Linked DNA regions of Homo sapiens: region 2 is linked to region 1. The links are contacts of gene promoters, found by promoter capture Hi-C in human tissues and cell types (Jung and others, 2019). All regions are on one chromosome and are shown on one strand. The core of a region is centred on a gene start or on the middle of the fragment in contact, and the rest is flanking DNA. Distances in the headings are between cores, read along the strand shown.

What was found. The method cuts DNA at HindIII sites, captures the fragments that hold promoters and counts their contacts. A contact is called where the count stands out against the background at its distance.
Region 2: a fragment that was not itself captured here is called in contact with the fragment with the promoter of CD300LB in region 1 in 4 of the 25 tissues and cell types used here (adrenal gland, psoas muscle, spleen and 1 more).

Annotation. Positions count from the first base shown.
Region 1 is chr17:74,529,788-74,535,781 of GRCh38, reverse strand. CD300LB (CD300 molecule like family member b) reads left to right here and starts at 4,307. Exons shown (of 4, transcript NM_174892.4): 1 at 4,307-4,471. The coding sequence starts at 4,432. It overlaps LOC107985074 (a long non-coding RNA gene), which reads right to left. Exons shown (of 3, transcript XR_007065902.1): 2 at 3,141-3,235; 3 at 903-1,107. It also overlaps a transcript of CD300C not described here. The HindIII fragment of the contact is 14,743 bases long and covers 1-5,666 here.
Region 2 is chr17:74,566,083-74,571,982 of GRCh38, reverse strand. It overlaps CD300H (CD300H molecule (gene/pseudogene)), which reads left to right and starts at 4,474. Exons shown (of 4, transcript NM_001405511.1): 1 at 4,474-4,634. RefSeq lists enhancers at 1,667-2,396, 2,397-3,127. The HindIII fragment of the contact is 7,027 bases long and covers 1-5,035 here.

The DNA of each region.
Region 1 (5,994 bases), core at 3,058-5,557:
ATATTGGGAATGTCTTTGCAAATATTGGCCATTTCCTCTTCTGCAGAAATTTTAGAATTAACCAGTCAACGTACTAAAAAAGAAAAAAAATTATGTTGAGACTTTAAATGTAAATGTATGAAATTTATCTTTATAATAATTTCTCTGTCTATGAACATGGTATGTAATTCTAATTATTTATGAGCTTTTAAAATGTCTTTTAATAACATTCTATTATTTTCTCCTTGATATTTGCTCATATATTTGTTAAGTGTAATTCTGGATATTTTATGTTTTTATTCTTATTTTGTGGCTTTTTTTTTTTTTTTTTTTGAGACAGAGTTTTGCTCTTATTGCCCAGGCTAGAGTGCAGTGGTGCAATCTCGGCTCACTGCAACCTCCGCCTTCTGGTTTCAAGTGATTCTCCTGCCTCAGCCTCCCAAGTTGCTGGGATTACAGGTGCCTGCCACCATGCCCAGTTAATTTTTTTGTATTTTTAGTGAAGACGGGGTTTCACCATGTTGGTCAGGCTGGTCTTGAACTGATGACCTCGTGATCCATCTGCCTCAGCCTCCCAAAGTGCTGGGATTACAGGCATGAGCCACCGCGCCCCGCCCCATTTTGTGGCATCTTTTATTGCATTTTCAAGTTATTCATTGCATGCATGTAGATAAACAATTGATCCTTACTGATTATATATATTTAGCAACTCTGCAAAAAATCTTAGTAATTGTTTTCAGTTTTATATGTAGATAATCAATTAATCTAGAATAATTTAGAGCTTTGTTTTTCTTTCTAATTCTCATGTCTTTTGTTTCTCTTTCTTGTTGTATTGTGCAGGCTAATCAAAGTGTTGAATCAAAGTAGTGATTTTGAGCAATCTTGTCCTCTTCCTGATTCTAAAGGAAAGATTTTGCCATGGGTTGTAATGGGTTGCTTATAGGCACCTTTTAATTCCTAGTTTATCATGAAAAGTAATGGATTTCAGATAGTGGTTTTTGTGCGTTTACATGATTATGTGGGTTTTCTTCTTTATTCTATTAATGTGATTCATTATATTAATTTTTTTAGATGAAGCCTCATTCTGTCACCCAGGTTGGAGTGCAGAGAAGACGATCTGTTACCCATCTAGAAAGAGAAGTGAGAATAAAAGCATTATTTTAGTCTCCTTCCTTTCAGTATGTGATCCAGGATGGAGAACACAGTAGGGGGCGTTCCCCCAACTATTTTCTTTCCCTGGTTCCTGGATCCTGGCACCCATTTAAATGTGCTGGCCATGACTGCAGGCGTGACCCTCCAAGCCATGGCACCAGAGAAACTAGACTTCTGGGCCCACTTACACTTCCACAAGCACCTTAGTCTTTTATTTCTTTTTGACCTCCTGTGTGACCTGTGTGCTTCCCTAAAAAACAAAACAAAAAAACAACGATTTTAAGAAAAACTACGGGCCAGGTGTGGTGACTTATGTCTGTAATTCTAGCACTTTGGGAGGGCAAGGTGGGTGGATCACCTGAGGTCAGGAGTTCAAGACCAGCCTGGCCAACATGGTGAAACCCTGTCTCCACTAAAAATACAAAAATTAGCCACACATGGTAGCGGGCACCTGTAATTCCAGCAACTTGGGAGGATGAGGCAGGAGAATCACTTGAACCCGGGAGGTGGAGGTTGCAGTGAGCTGAGATCATACCACTGCAATCCAGCCTGGGTGGCAAGAGCAAGACTCCATCTCAAAAAAAAAAAAAAAAAAAAAAAAAAGGAAAGAAAAGAAAAGAAAAAAAAAGAAAAACTACATAATTGGGCAAAGCCTCTTTAAGGGAGGGGGCGTGCTAGATTGAACTTTATATCTTGCTATTATTATGGCCTGTGCTAAAGCATTTACCCTTAGAAAAATGGTTCTGGTTAACTTCTGGACTTAAAAATCCCCTTACTAATTAAGTACCATCTTAATCGGAGACAGAATAGGTGCCTTAAAGGAATGTAGGAACCGAATGGCCATTTTCCTGCCAATGGGACAATATTGAGACTAAAATTTGGCTATGGAAGACTTCTTAACTCCTAACTGCTAAAGGCAGAACTTTCCCATTTCAAGAAGAGGCCTAGAGCCTGATTTCTTTTTCTTTTTTCTTTTCTTGTTCTTTCTTTCTCTCTCTCTCTCTCTTTCCTTTTCTTTTCTTTTCTTTTTTTTGAGACCGAGTCTTGCTCTGTTGCCCAGGCTGGAGTGCAGTGGCGCGATCTCGGCTCACTGCAAGCTCTGCCTGCCGGGTTCACGCCATTCTCCTGCCTCAGCCTCCCGAGTAGCTGGGACTACAGGCGCCCGCCACCACGCCTGGCTAATTTTTTTTTGTATTTTTAGTAGAGACGGGGTTTCACTGTGTTAGCCAGGATGGTCTCGATCTCCCGACCTCATGATCTGCCCGCCTCGGCCTCCCAAAGTGCTGGGATTACAGGCATGAGCCACCGCGCCTGGCCGAGCCTGATTTCTAATCATGCAAAAAGAAGCTGCGGTTTGCCATGAAAAAATATGCTTTATGTAGAGGATTTCTATTTCTACTAGGTGGCACTGTTGGCTTAGAAATACTATGTGCTCACTAGAGACGTGGTAGTGAGTAACCTCACGGTGGGAGAAAGGGGAGAACTCTGTTCCTAGAAGATTGCAAGGGCATCTTCCTGATTTTGCCTAACAGGATTACTTTCCTAGGCTGTAAAACTCGCTACACATTTCACACAAAGAAAGTGTAAGAGACCGCAGATAGAGAAGGAAGGAGAGTTTTGTGACAAGATAGTTGAGGATTCTTTGCCAACACCCAGAATGGGCCGCCAGAGGCTGGGTCCAGTCCAGGGGCCTTTGAATCATGCCAGGGTGTGCTCTGGCCAGAAATTGTTAGTTGCCTTAGAACTTTTCCCAGCCTTGCACAATGGCGAGGTCTTCCCGTGAAAAGAAGCTGATTTAAAACATGGCCAACATTCCCAATGACCCAGGGGTGTTGGGGGGTTCTCCGTGTTCTCAGCAGCAAGCCTCACATTCGAGTCTTCAGTATGGCAGCCAACACTAAGTGTATGTACCCGGCTGACGGATGCCCATTGACTTATTTTATTTTAAAATAGAGGCTAAGAGTGCCTCGGAATGATAGAAGAGATTTTAAGCTCACTCCCATACTTACCACTCCGATGAGTGTCGTACCTTGGATTCCCGGCCAATGCAACAAAATGGTATGGCTCTGATGACTGGAGGAACACTAGGGTCCTTGGTCTCCCACTGGTTTGAATAAAACAACATGGGCACACGTGGAGTGGTTTTAAGGAGTGGAGAATTTAATAGACAAGAAAGAAGGAAGGAAGAGGCTCCCCCTGTTCTGAGACTGAGGGAGGCGGGCTCCAAGCTGAAAGAGGGAACCTCGAGTACGGTGGAAAACAGCCAGTTATATGAGGAGGCTGGAGGAGGCGGTACCTGATTTGCATAGGGCCCAGGGGATTGGTTTGACCAGGTATGTCATTCAAGTAGCCCACGAAAAAACTAGCCTTCCTACCCTAGCCTTTTAATATGCAAATACAGGCGCCATGATGTTCTACACACATGGGTGTATGTAGGGGCGGCCATGTTGCCAGGAACGTGGGGAAAAGAAGAAGAGGCGGGAGTCTCCATGTTTGGGTGGACGCAGTTTCTAATGGCCTGTATTTGCATATCAAAGCTTGCCTGCCCAGCTCTAAGAGCCAGGGCTTTTCTTCTAGACAAGAAACATTTATGGAGCTGCTTTAAAAGAAAAAAAAATCTTCCCAAGCACCCCTTTTCCTATCTACCTAAAATAATTTCTTAATAACTCCTATAACAACAACAAACATTATGAGCCCAGTTAATAGATACAATAACTGAGGCACAGAGATGTTGATTGCATTGTCCACAGTCACGCAGCTTGTAGGTGGTGCTCGTGGGGTTAGAGCCAGGTCTGTCTGACCCAACAGTCTGCATGTTTATGCACTTGGCTATAACACCTGAACAAATGCATGTTCAGGTGTGCCCAGCATGACCCATCCGACATCTGAGTTGGGTGTTCACTGTGGTATAGAACAGCTCTGAAATTGACTCCCAGAGTGTTATACCCCTTGGACCCAAGGCCTGCTAGGCCAGACGCCCCCCACCCCACCCCTTCTGCAGACGTATCTCCCCCTACCCTAAAGACCCTGCACAGTCCCCTCCCTCCTCTTTTTTACATAGTGACGATGCTTAAGCCCTGTGGCGCAGCCCTGCCAAAAAATGACACCTCTTTCGTTTAATAATTAAAAGCAGGAACTACCCACTCTATAAAAGGAAGTGAATGAGTAAGAAAGTCAAAGGCGGTCTAGATGTGCAGAAGGTGCAAGCCAGAGCTCAGGCAGAACTTCCAGAGTGCATCTGGGATCTGCATTTGCCACTGGTTGCAGATCAGGCGGACGAGGAGCCGGGAAGGCAGAGCCATGTGGCTGCCCCCTGCTCTGCTCCTTCTCAGCCTCTCAGGTGAGTGGGGCTGGGGCCTTGGGCGCTTGGTATGACAGGGGCAGGGCAGGAGGCAGAGGGCATTTGTCCTTCCACATCCAGGGAAATGAGAGGTGGCTTTGTGAAGTCATTCGACAAAGGTGCACTGGGGACTGACATCGTGTGCTTCGGGGCCTGAGGACATCAAGAAAAAAGAGGAGGAGAACTGGCCATTAAAGAAGACTCCAGGCTTGAGGCCATGGCTCACACCTATAATCCTAACACTTTGGGAGGCCAAGGTGGGAGGATTGCTTGAGTCCAGGCGTTTAAGACCAGTTTGGGCAACATGGTGAGACCTCGTCTCTATATAAAATGAACAAAAATTAGCTGGGCGTGGTGACCGTGCCTGTAGTCCCAGCTACTTGGGAGGCTGAAGCTGGAGGATCCTTTGAGCTCAGGTATTCAATTCTGCAGAGTTATGATCGCACCACAGCACTCCAGCCTGGGTGATACAGTGGGACCTTGTCTCAAAAAAAAAATAAAGTAAAAAGACTCCAGATGGCTTAGTGGGTGAGACATACACATAAACAATGAGCAATTGCAGGACACAATAAGGCATTGGTGGAGGCGTGTGCGGAGGATGAAGCAGTTCTCTCTGGTGACTAGAGAAAGACTCACGAAGCTGTGCACTTGATGTGCCTTGTAGAAGGAAGGTCAGTCTCTGGAGCAGAGCTGAGAGGAGAACACTCTAGAGAGTTGGGTGTGTGTGTGTGTGTGTGTGTGTGTGTGTGTGTGTGTGTGTTGGGGGACCTGGGCAGAGAGATGGAGGCTTAGAAAGAATGGTGGATTCATGCAGAGGGAGCTGTCAGTGTGCAGGATGTCTTGGAGGTGGCGAGTTGGATATGAGGTTGGAAACACAAAAGACAAGATTATGAAGGCCATCCACGCCAGGCTCAGGAGCTGAGACTTTCAAAGAAAAAACTTCTCAAGAACCCAGGTGGAAAGTGGGAAGGGCTAGATGATCTTCTCCATGGCAAACCTTGGTGGACACCTAGAGGGCATTAGGGGACAATCTAGAATTTTACGCAGGGTGTGCAATGTGTGTGGGCCACACAGTTTTCTGCTGGTGCCTAGGGACTGACCATCTGGCACAGATAGAGCAGTCCACGGAGGGACAACAGGAAAGAGCATGGCTGGGGAGTTCTGAGACCCGACTCCAGTCCTGGCTGGACTTCCACCCTTCAGCCCGTTCAACGGGGCTCTGCTCCAAGCTGACGGCTGCCCTGTCATTTCCATCTCTATCGTTCCTCATACCAACTCTTGACAACATATAGAAGCCTGATTAATAGTTCCAGCCATCATATTCTGTGGTTAGAGAAACCCCCAAATATTTTTTTAAACGGGACTAATTACATCGTGAGCCATTTACAGTTTGAATGACTGAAGCTGGGATTGATGACACTTTGTTCAATGCAGCAGCATCTCTTTTCTGCTGTTAGTGATTGCTGACAAATCCAATTTATGTTTTTGGGTATTTTGTTTTTGTTTTTGTTTTTTGTTTTTGA
Region 2 (5,900 bases), core at 273-2,772, 39 kb before region 1:
ACAATGAAGGCCTGATCCTCATGACCTCATCTAACCCTAATTACCTCCCACAGGCTCATTTCCTAATATCACCACATTACGGGTTAGGGCTTCCACATATGAATTTTTGGGGGAACTCATCAATCCATAGCAGACACCCAGAAGCAGACTTTGTTGTGTTGTTAATTTCCCCTGAAGATACTTCCTGCTATTCTGCAAACAGATATTGAATGAAATAAGACTTGGAGGCCTCTTCCACTTGCCATCTCTCAACCCATCTCACCCCTGCCTGAGTGTTGCAATCCGTACCTTGCATCATGAGAGCCAGAGGTGGGACCCCACCGAAGACCTGGGTTCAAATCCTGACCTCCCCACTTCCCATCATGACAGTTTAGTTCGTCTTTCCAGCTCCAGTCATCTTATTTAAAAGTGACCTGGCAGGGGTGTTGGGATGGGTATGCAGGATTTAAATATACAGAGTGCATGGTACGTAGAAGATCAAAAGAGGAAAGTTTCCCAGAGGGATGCCACCACCTTCAAATGCCTTTGCTCAACTCCTGGGACTGAGCAGGGTGAATATTTTTATTCCTATTTCACAGATGAGGAGACTGATGCTAAGAGACTTTTGCTGATTTGCCTAAAGTCATATAACTAGTGAACAGCAGACCTTAAAATCTGAGCCAGGGCTCCCAGCTTATGGCCAGAACCTTCCTCACTGTGCTACATGGCCCACATCATCAGAGTCAGGTAGAGACCCTCTCTGAGCCGGGCTCCCTATAGCACCCCAGCCCCCATGTTGGGAAGACCCTCCCCACACCCTGCTCCCTAGAGAGCCCTGTATTTGTAACAAGATCCCAAAGAGGCATCCATTGCCCAGAGCCGGTCAGGAGGCTGCCCTCTTGGTGACGTCTCCCTTGAGTGCCAGTGGGGAGGGAAGAAAGTGGGCAGTGGGGTCCACCATCCTTGGGCACTTGCCCATTCTCACCATGATGCACAAGATACTGAGAACTACTCCCCAAATGGATTGACGTCGGGTAGTAGAGGTGAGAGAAGAGAGGCCCAATGCCTTAATACATTCCTGATCCCCTCCCCTGGAAAATATGGAAGGATCGGAGCTCTCACCCTCCAATTCAGCTCACAAGGCTGGGGCCGAGCTCTGTCTGCGTCTCCGGGTGCCCAGATTGGTCCTGCCTTTGTGGAGGCTACAGCCTCACCTGGAAATGGATGCCATGCAACAGGACAATGACAGCACAGGGACATGAGATTAAATACAGAAATAAGCATTGCAGGTAACAGGAACCCCAGAGGGAGGGGTCTGGAAGGCCTGGAGCAGGCAGGGATGCCTTCCAGGAGAGGTGTGGTCTGAGCTCATCCTGGGAGAGTGAGAAGGGAGGATGACGGTTTTCGAGGAAGCAGAAAGACAAGCACAGCCCCGAAAGGCAGAGAGAAATGTGTGGGCTACTCACACTGTCCTACACATCACATGCCCCGAGTTTGCCCTAAGAACGCACCCCTCACTGATGAGATCTTAACTTTCTGGAAGCCCCAAGAGCTGTCCCTCAAGGGCAGCGATGGTGGGGGTCTCAGTGTGGTGCAGTGCCAGGCAGGGCCCCGGGCTCCCCGCCCTCCTGTGCCTCATGGCCAGTGTTCATTATTCTCAGTCCTCCCCTAGCTCTGCCCTCCTGGAGCGGACAGCATTTTCCAGGACAGGTTTCAGAGACAGAAGGACAAGGGCCTGCTGGGGAAGGGACAGCGGCTCCAGATGCTGGCCTTGACATGGAAAAAGCCTGGATGTCCCAGATGTGGGTCATCTCTTCAAGGAATTTGTCATCTCCTGGGGGACTCCAGGGCCCAGAGTACATCTGCTTCAAAGGTGGGTTCCCTGTGGCATTGCCATGTCCTTTGCATTTGGCAAACTGTCTGGTCCTAGCTAAAAAAATGAAACACACACAGGCTGTTTCTAAGCAGACCCTGCAGCCTCTCCCTGCCCCGACCTTGGATGAGCGAGAAGCACGGAGTCGGTGTGCTGCGGGGCACCCTTCCAGCCCGGTTAGGGAACCTCCAGTAGTGGGTTCTGTGGTTGTGGTCAGTGACTTGCCGCCTTGTCCTGTAAGAGGACTGTGCTTCTCCTTCCCACTGACTTCAGGCTTGACCCTATGACGATGAACGGTGAGCAGGAGCCGCATGTGCGCCTTCTGAGCAGAGGCTCAGAGAGCCACCCGGTGCCTTCCCTCTCCTCTAGCGGACTGGGCTCCGCAGCCTGGTGCCCAAGCAATGCTGACTCACCGCTTGCGTATAGACGAGCGAGAAACAAGCTTCTGTGGTTACAGCATGCTGGGATTAGGAGTTTTGCTATGGCAATGTGAGCCAGAAAGAGCTGACTAATACAACCCTGTGCACCCGGTGGTTTGTCCAGACAAGGATGGCGAGAATGTTTTCTGGAAAAGTCTGCAGCTGTGCGTCATCTCCTTCACAGACTCAGATCCCTTCTTCCCAAGAAAGGCACGTTGAGCAGCCCTTGACGCAGAGTCAGGGAGGGCCAGGCAAGCCTTTCCTTAGCGCCCAGAGCTAGGCACAGAGGGCGGGGCTCGCAACCGGCTCTGCAGGCTGCAAGGGGAGACATCTTTATCACTCCCAGCTCCTGCTTCCCCTCCACACACATGCACGCACCAACCCACACACCACACATATACACCACATGTACACACACACACACCCATACACCTCCCCACGCCCACACATGCACACACCACCCCACACACCACACACATACGCCACATGTAGACACACACCACCCACACCCCCCACACATGCACACACATACACACACCACACACATACACCACATGTACACACACACCACCCACACCCTCCACGCCCACACATGCACACACATACATACACTACACACATCACCCCACATACCACACACATACACCACACACCACCCCACATACCACACACGTACACCACACATGGACACGCACACACCACATACACTCCCACACATGCACACATATACACACTACACACACCACCCAACACACCACACACACGTACACACATACACACTACACACATCTCATCTCATACACACCACTCACATCACACACACCACACACACATTACACACACCCTACCCCACATACTGTACATATACACCACATGTACACACATCTCACACCACACACGTGCACACACATACACACTACACACACACCACCTGTGCACACACACCACACACACATGCAAACACACACACTACATGCACCCCACCCCACACATCACACACATACACCACATGTACACACATACACACACTACACACATCCCACCCACACCACACACACCACTCACACCACACACACGACCCCAAACACCACACACATACACACACACTACACACATCTCACACACACCACTCACACCACACATACACACACACTACACACACACCATCCCACACACCATGCACATACATCACATGTACCTACATACACACATACCACACATACTACACACACTACCCACACCACACACACTACACATATATCCCTCATACCACACCCATATACACACATGTGAACACACACAGAAATATGAGGACTCCACATGCAGCAAAAAATGAACAAGCAGGAAACACATTTACTGAAACACCAAGGAGGAGACATTTGATAACAGAATGCCAGGAATTTGGAGTCTCCTAGTTCCAGAAATCTAAGTCCCTGAGTGAGGCCTTCTGAAGCTGTGCTTGCATTTATAAATCCTCCACAGCCATTCTGTGTATATCAGGCACACTTCTGGCCAGGTTCCCCCGAGTTAGCTCTTGATATATTGAAACTCTTATATGTGGTCATCTTGGGCGACAGGAAGAGCCACACAGGTCAAAAGCAAGGCTTATAGATGGTCCACCAAGCTCTGCGTGGTGCCAGGTCTGTGGAAACAGTCAGGCACGTGGCCAAGACAGGGACCTCTGGGGTCTGCTGAGGTCAGAGCAAGAGTGAGGGGTTAAGAGGTCAGAGCCTCTGAGGTTGCACCCAGCCTATCTGTACCACCAAGGATCAGAGATAGACCAGCGGGCATCGTGGGTGTGCCCCTACCCTGTGCAGTCTCGCAGGCCCGGCTCTTAGAAGGGTCCCACGTTTCATGCTTGGCTGTCACCATCTTGAAATTCTTAATAATTTTGGAAACCTAGGTTTGATTTTACACTGGGCTCTGCAAATAGCCAGTCTCATCCATCCAGTGAAGGCTGAGCCATACCCTGGGGCGGCTCATGCTGGCCACAGAAAACTGGCCATTCACAGAGGGGAGGACCTGCCCAGAAAATCCAGATGGCAGCTGGCCCAGTCTCACTGGTCCTGGGCCATGCTGTGATTTGGAGAAGGGCAGGCCTGTCAGCTGTGGGTAATGGGAGGGACATTGTCTTTACTGGGAACAGAAAGAGGAACAGCAAATGCAAACATGTTTTATTAGGAAGAACTTCAGCAAGTTCTCAAAATTGTTTCACCTGACCACATAGTGCCCCATGGCCCCAGCTTCCTCCATACTCTCACCAGCTCTGAGAACCAAACCCAGAAGAGGCCAGAGAAGGAAACGAGAGATGTGAGAAGGAAAAAGAGCCTCAGACCCTGCTGCCACAAGGGACTTCCATGCTGGTGAGATGACCCAGAGGGCTGGGGCTGCCATGCTGCCTTCAGCTCTGCTCCTTCTCTGTGTCCCAGATGAGCAGGGCAGGTCCTGGGTGCAGGGAGGTCTGCTCTGGCGGGTCAGGGTGAGGCAGGCATGAGAAAAGGCTGGCGAGGGGCAAGAGGAAGAAATGATATCAAGAAAGAGGGAGTGAGGTGTGCATAGAAGCTTCTCAAATCTCCTTATCGGGATAGGGTGGGGATTAAACGGTAAACTGCTTCCCACACAGTAAGCCCTAAGTAGATTTGGCAACTTTAATCATTATTACCGTCATTATTAAGATCAGGAATGCCACCACGATCCATCAGAGAGAAGGGGGAATAGGGGACAGAAAACCAGTACTTACTAGGCTAATCACTGTAATACATATCTTGTTTCCCACTATCTCATTTAATTCTTATTGCAATCCTGATGAAAACAAGAGACCGAAGCTCGCTCTTAGAGGTGCAAATAATTTAGATTAAACAGTTTATAAAAGGCACAGTCAAGGTCCAAACCTAAATACTTTTATTTCCAAGATCATTGCTCCTTCTCTAATTCAATGTCAATGTCTGCTGCGCCTCCTTGTAAAGCTTCACTTACATATCTGGAGGCATATGCTGCATCCCCACGTGGGAACCCTGGGTGTCCCCACAGGTCTGGGCTGGCCCCAGGGCTGCTACTTAATGGGCCCCCAGAAGGGTGAGACAGCTGGGAACCTGTGGTCAGCCCTGGTCCGAGAGTTTCCGTAAATGATGGTGGAGGGAGAAAGTCAGTTTCTTTGCAAGGCTGGGTAGGCGGGAAGCTCCGTAAAAGATGGTGGGGGTGGAGGTGGAGGAGGCTGCCCATGTTGGCTCAGAGTCAGGGTCTGGACTGAATATCCAAGGAGAGGGAGGCTCTGTGGTGGGATTCAGTGTGTGCCCCACAATGTTTTTGCTCCTTGTGGAATTAGCCCCAAATCATTAAGAGAGAAGTTTAAGGACCTGAAAGAGCAGGCTAACAGCGCCCCCAGAGCCTGAGCTGAGAGCAGCAGCGATTTCAGGAGAGGACTGGGTGTGCCCACCCCTTCCTTGCTCCTAAGCCTGTGCCTGGCAGGCAGTTAGCTCCCTGGGAAAGCTCGTGGACCTCAACACTGTGGACATTTGGGGCTGCGTTATTCTGTGTGTTGGGGGCTGTCCTGTGCATTGTAAGATGTTTAGAAGCATCCCTGGCCTCTACCCACCAGATGCCAGCAGCAATTCCCCACCCTAAGTTGG